2 separate regions of the Homo sapiens genome follow, and region 2 is linked to region 1. The links are contacts of gene promoters, found by promoter capture Hi-C in human tissues and cell types (Jung and others, 2019). All regions are on one chromosome and are shown on one strand. Each heading gives the region's core, a stretch centred on a gene start or on the middle of the fragment in contact. The rest is flanking DNA. Distances are from core to core; before and after follow the strand shown. Region 1 holds the start of KCTD5 (potassium channel tetramerization domain containing 5). Region 2 holds the start of KREMEN2 (kringle containing transmembrane protein 2).

Region 1 (3,022 bases), core at 311-2,810:
ACAAACGCCTATTTCTATCCTGGGGATGACTGTCATTTCCTGGGAGGTCAATTCTCTGAGTAGAGGGCTTGGTCAAATGAGCAATGGAAACAGTTGGAAGTTGTGGGGAGGCACAGGAGGGTTGGCATCTCAAACCCTCATTTCCACCCACAAGGCTGCCTTAGCAGTAACTCCAGATTCTCACTTCCTGATCACGGTCATGCCATGCTGAGAATGGTCTCAGTCAGGCTTCTCAAACTTGAAGAGGGATCCGAACCTTTCTGGGAAGCCTCCTGCATGGCAAATGTTGGCTGCCAAGGCACAAAGCCAAGCGCAGTCATGTAAGCTCAACTGAAAGACCCCGCAAAGTTAGTATAAGGCTTGTGAACTGCCTTGAATAAATATAGGTAACAACTTCTTCAAACAGGCTTTTTTGTGAGTTTCAATCCTGCACAACTCCCAAGACACGGTTCCTCGGCTCCACAACTCTTGATAAATAAAGGTAGCAAAAGGTTTCTATTACCATCTACCCAACAGCATGAGCATTTCGCTTGATGAAAGACAAGCTGCAAACTAACCTGGAAATTCCTGTCCTTTTGCGAAGACAGTGGGAAAACTAAGCCAATTAGAAAGCAGATTGAAAGATTCCTTACCTGACCCTTCCTGGACATCCCTAAAGCAACCCTTAATATGAGCAAAATCCCCTTCGAAAAATCATACTATATACTACGGACGCATCTTCTAAGAGGTGCTGAGTGGGTGCTGCGTGCTGTGGATGGAAAGGATGGAGCGCCAACTCTCTAAATGCAAGTCACCAGGGAAAAAAAGGGCCGCCCATATCAACCCCCACGTCAGCGTTAATTCAAACGTCCAGAATGTGAAACAACGCCAAGGGTTCTGTTTCCAGAGCCAGCAAGTACCCTGGGACAGAGAAGAGAAGGCGTTCACACACCCTGGGCAAAAGAACCTAGTGAGAAAAAGAAAGTAGAATCACAGCAAAGTCCGGGGTCTAGGAAGCCTCCTCCACCAAAGAGCAAAGAGGGCGAGGAAGAGACACCCCCAAGGTGAATCGACTCAGGATCCTCAAAGGCAGTGGACGCCAGGGCGCCATCCTCACCCTCCCCTCCCAGGGTAGGGGATCGGGGCAAGCTGGGGAGGAGCTGGCGACAAGGGAGCGCGGGGCTCGAAGCCCGAGGAGAGTCGCCCGCTCCCGCTGAAGTCTCCTCCGCACGAAGCAGGGCGTGTGCAGGAGCCGCAGGCCGGGAAGGCCAGGACCCTCCGGGCTGGCCCGTGAGGCCCTCACCTTGTCTGAGTCCAGGTCGGGATCGGCCTGGCATAAGCGGTACAGGAAGGATTTCGGGTCCCGGCACAGGGTCTGCCGAGTGGTGAGGAAGTAGGTGCCGCCGACGTTGAGTCGGACCCACTTGGACACGCTGCCAGGGCGCTGGGCCAGGGCGCCGAGCCCAGCGCTGCAGCGGCGGCACAGGCCGCCCCCCAGCCCCGCCCCGATGCCGCCCCGGGCCGGCGACAGGAGCTCGCAGTGATTCTCCGCCATGATCCCAGCAAGCCCCGCAACAGCTCCCTTCCACCGGAAGCGTCCGGCTTTTAATAGCGTCCTCTGAGTTCTGTCCCGCCCACAGGTCCGCCCTGGTAGAGCGCCCGCCCCGGCGTCACGCGGTAGGCGGAAGTTCCGGTCCCGAAAAGCAGGAGGCTGGGCCCGCTTCCGGCGGGAGCGGAGCACGGGGTGATCTGGGCACTAACGCTGATGGGGAGCAGCGGACATCAGCCTCGACCTCCCACGAGCGGTGCACGAGCGCCTGACCCAGACCTCGACCCTAGCCTTCACCCCCACCCTGACTCCAGTTCATGAACTGGTCAAAGGAAGAGCCATGCCAGCAAACGTCTACACTGTACATGCTTTTTATTACAAGACTACGGAGCATAGGAGGAAAATTCATCATCTGGTAACTACACCTAAAGCACAAATATTTGGGGGGAAAAAAAGAACAGATTCATTAAATTATATGATTAAATCATTGACCCAATAGAAAATTTATATAATAAGGGCGGGGCCTGGTGGCTCACGCCTGTAATCCCAGCACTTTGGGAGGCCGAGGCGGGAGGATCAGGCGGTCAGGAGATCGAGACCACGCTGGCCAACATGGTGAGGCCCGGTCTCCACTGAAAATACAAAAATTAGCCTGGCGCGGTGGTGGGCGCCGGTAATCCAAGCTACTCGGGAGGCTGCGGCAGGAGAATGGCGTGAACCCGGGAGGCAGAGGTTGCAGTGAGCTGAGATCTCGCCACTGCACTCCAGCCTGGTGATAGGGCGAGAGTCTGTCTCAAAAAAAAAAAAAGAAAGTTTTTGTAATAAAGCCAGAAAAAAGTTGTAAAATATATAGTAATTATTCACATTCAAGGCTGTATATCAATACATATAACAACGTGGCCCCGAACATGAATTCAATACAAATAATTCATATATTAGAATTTAGGCCGGGCGCGGTGGCTCATGTCTGTAATCCCAACACTTTGGGAGGCCAAGGTGGGTGGATCACGAGGTCAGGAGTTCAACATCAGCCTGGCCAAGATGGTGAATCTCCGTCTCTACCAAAAATACAAAAAATTAGCCAGATGTGGTTGTGGGCGCTCGTAATCCCAGCTACTCGGAGGCTGAGGCAGAGAATTGCTTAAACCCAGGAGGCGGAGGTTGCAGTTAGCCGAGATCAGGCCACTGCACTCTAGCCTGGGCGACAGAGTGAGACTCCGTCTCAAGAAAAAAAAAGAATTTAAATAACAGGCTGAACTAGAGGCCAACAATAGCCAGCAAATAACCTTCTATAAGATTAAAAACACAAAAGTGTATATCCTAATACCATTGTATTATTTGTTTTCATGAGTTCTTTTAATTTTTGCTTTGTCTGTACATCACAGTTACAGCTACAGACCAGGTAGAGAATATTACGCATGTTCTGACTGCCACCCACCTGAAAGACGTACTAGTCATTTATCCTATTTCATGTTGTGAAGGAACAGCTACAGC
Region 2 (3,022 bases), core at 242-2,741, 280 kb before region 1:
CGAGTCTCGCTCTGTCACCCAGGCTAGAGTGCATTGGCGCGATCTCTGCTCACTGCAAGCTCCGCCTCCCGGGTTCAAGCGATTCTCCTGCCTCAGCCTCCTGAGTAGCTGGGATTACAGGCGCCCGCCACCATGCCCCGCTAATTTTTTGTATTTTTAGTAGAAATGGGGTTTCACCATGGTAGCCAGGCTGGTCTCGAACTCCTGACCTCAGATGATCCGCCTGCCTTGGCCTCCCAAAGTGCTGGGATTACAGGCTGAGCCACCGCGCCTGGCCTCCAACCCCACTTAAAAGCAGAAGTGAGCTCCTGAGCTTTGCGGCTCTCCTCCCGCTGGGTCCATCCTGCCTCAGACCGTAGCTGTGGCTCTGAACCCCAAAATAAGTTGTATGACAAGAGCCCCACTCTGACAAGGCCCCGCCCATTCGGCCCCCGCTCTGACCAGGCCCCGCCCATACGGGTCCTTTGAGTGCCCAGGTCCGTTTCTCTCCTGGCCCTGAACTGGAGCTCTGCAGAAATTGTTCACCTGAGGAGGATCCCTTTTGCGCCAGGGTTCCGCGCGCCCCGCCCCGCCCCGCCCCGCCCCTCATTCTGGCCCCGCCCCCAGGTTCTCCAGGAGGCTGGGCTGCCAGTCCACGGCAGACCTCCACCCCGCCCGCACGGAGGCCCCGCTTCGGGCCATCCCTGCAATGGTGAGCCCAGCCTCGCCCCCAGCGCAGGCCCCGCCCCTCACCGGCAGAAGTTGTGCGCGCCCAGCCCCCAGCGGCCGTGGGGGTCGCTGGCGCTGCTGTAGCTGTGTTGCTGCGTCTGGTCCCAGAAGAGGCACGGGCGGCCCGCCCCGCGCGGGCCAGTGCGGTTCTGGTGGCCGCGGTAGTCAGCCCCATTCACCTGGAAGCATTCGGACAGGCCTGCACGGCAAAGGCAGGGCCTGGGGAGGTCCGGACCCACGCCGGGCATCCTCGCGCCCCTACGCCACCTCCCGCCTGGGTCCCCAGCCAGCGACCCCGCACCCGCCCCTGCAGGAGCCCTCGGGCTGCTCAGCTGCTCCGGCCACCTGCTCTGTCCCCCTCCCTAGCCTTGGGGGCCTGGCCCTGGGGGCGGAGGCCGAGGAAGGGGTGGTGAACACGGCCCGACAGCCGTGCGGGGACTTACCTGGACTGTGCAGGCTCCCAGCCGAGGCCCCACGCGGCTGCAGCAGCGGGAGGAAGAGGAGAAAGAGGAAGCCCTGCAGGGCTTGTGTCCCCATCGCTCTCAACCAAGGATAGGTCACCCTCGCCCGGACACGGCCCGGGCTGCCCCCGGGGTCGCTTCGGGGTCTCCCAGGAGACCTAGGGGGCGTTGTCCTCTGACAGTCTCCCCTCGTCCGACTCTGAGCCGCGCTTTCCGTCTGGGGTGGGTAAATCTCTCCTGGGGGTCTTTGCCTCCCAGGGCCTCTGCCCCTAGAGGCGTCTCTCTGTCCCTGTCCCTACCCGGGTCTCTCCGGGGGGAATCTGGCCGGGGGCGTTCTCAGTCTCTGTCTCAGCGAGCTCTGGGCGGTGCCTCAGCCTCTACGCCCGCCCCCTCCCACTGAGCCTAGCTCTCGGCGTCTCCCTCGCCCAGGTCTCCAACGGGCTGACTCCTGCCCGCCTCGCATCCCTCCGTGGGTCCCTCCCCCTGGGTCTCTCCCTCCCCCCATGGGAGGCCGGGAAGCCCCGCCCAGCACTGGAGCGGAGGCAGCAGGTCCAGACGCCTCCCACGCCCGTTCCCCCGACCCCGGGCGTCCAGCGCTTCCCGGCCCCCTCTCCCTCAGGTCGGTGCCGGTTCAAGTGGGAAGGTGTGGAGGGGGACAGGCGGGGCAAGCGGACGGAAGGCCCTTAAAATGGGAGATACAGAACCCCCTCACGTGGTCGCACGCGCCCCAGGACACCCGGAATGTCCGAGTTACAAGCGCCCTCCTCCCAGTGCACGCACGCGCTCGCACTCTCTCCCATTCATTGCCAGGCGCTCACGCGCACACTTTCTTCGGATCCGCACGCCCCTCCCGCCCCTGGTCCAGATGCCGCTGGCCTGACGGAGGAAGCTCCACTCCCTGCCCCCGCGCCCACGAGACAGGCGGGAGTCGTGGACGCTCAGTCCGGGACAGGCAGGGGCAGCTGGTGTCTGGGGAGAAAGGCAGCTGCGCCCCAGGTCCCAGTCTGTCCCCTCCTCCTCCCCCTGCCCCGCCCTTCCCTGGGACCCCCAGCCCAGACTCTCCCGAGCCTTCACACTGCAGTGGAATTCCCCCAGCCGTGCCCCCCACCTGGCGGGGGAGGGGGAGGGGAGCAGGCCCAGGCAGGCGTGGGGGGAAATTCCCCGCCCCCTCCCCCTGGGCCCGACTCCTCCGAGTCCTCTGATCTCCCAGCGCCACCCGCCCGCTGCCCCCAGGGCTTGGGGGGAGGCCAGCGCAGGTGCGTGGGAGGGCGGAGGCGGGGGCCGGGGGAAGGAACTGGTGGGGGCCGGGCGCCCAGAGCGGCCCCGCCCCGCCCAGACCTCTTTGCCCCTCAGTCCAGCCTGCCCAGCCCGCACCAGGCCCTCGCCAAGCTGTCGAGCCCAGGCCGACCAGTCCCCGCCCTGCAGCCCCCACACCGTCTCTGCCCCGGTGTCGATGGAGAAGAAAGATGGGGTTCAGGGAGGTTCTGTCAGGCCCAGGCACCCACTGCGGTGCTGGGACCCGCGAGGATCTTCCAGCTGGCGCCTCACGCGAGTGTGCTCTGGAGGAGGGGCGTGGAGCCGAGGTGGGGGCATTTGAAGGAGATGGACTTGCTGAGACTCTAGGCCAGGGTCCTGGTCGCCTCCTCCGGGAGCCCTCTCAGAGGCCAGGCTGGCCCGGCTCACTGAGCCCTGAGCTGGGGCCTCCAGCACCCACGGGCTCCCTGGAACCCAACTGCGCTTCCCGACGAGGGAGCATCCGGGACCACCTGTCTGCCCGGTTTCTCTTGGCGGGGGCTCAGTGAAGTCCTCCCGGGCTCCAGTCCACAGAGGATGTCCTAGGGGCAGGCCTGCAC

The links. Contacts are between HindIII fragments. The study calls those that stand out against the background at their distance.
Region 2: a contact is called between the fragment with the promoter of KREMEN2 here and the fragment with the promoter of KCTD5 in region 1, in 3 of the 25 tissues and cell types used here (IMR-90 fibroblasts, mesenchymal stem cells and stomach).

What each region holds. Positions count from the first base shown.
Region 1 is chr16:2,681,061-2,684,082 of GRCh38, reverse strand. KCTD5 (potassium channel tetramerization domain containing 5) reads right to left here and starts at 1,560. Exons shown (of 6, transcript NM_018992.4): 1 at 1,283-1,560. The coding sequence starts at 1,534. RefSeq lists enhancers at 878-927, 998-1,047, 592-1,202 and a silencer at 1,298-1,477. The HindIII fragment of the contact is 14,940 bases long and covers 1-3,022 here.
Region 2 is chr16:2,962,744-2,965,765 of GRCh38, reverse strand. It overlaps KREMEN2 (kringle containing transmembrane protein 2), which reads right to left and starts at 1,491. Exons shown (of 9, transcript NM_172229.3): 1 at 1,152-1,491; 2 at 733-907. The coding sequence starts at 1,245. RefSeq lists enhancers at 1-112, 1-674, 2,643-2,772, 2,259-3,022 and silencers at 473-842, 913-1,162, 1,693-1,772, 2,323-2,452, 2,483-2,562. The HindIII fragment of the contact is 31,540 bases long and covers 1-3,022 here.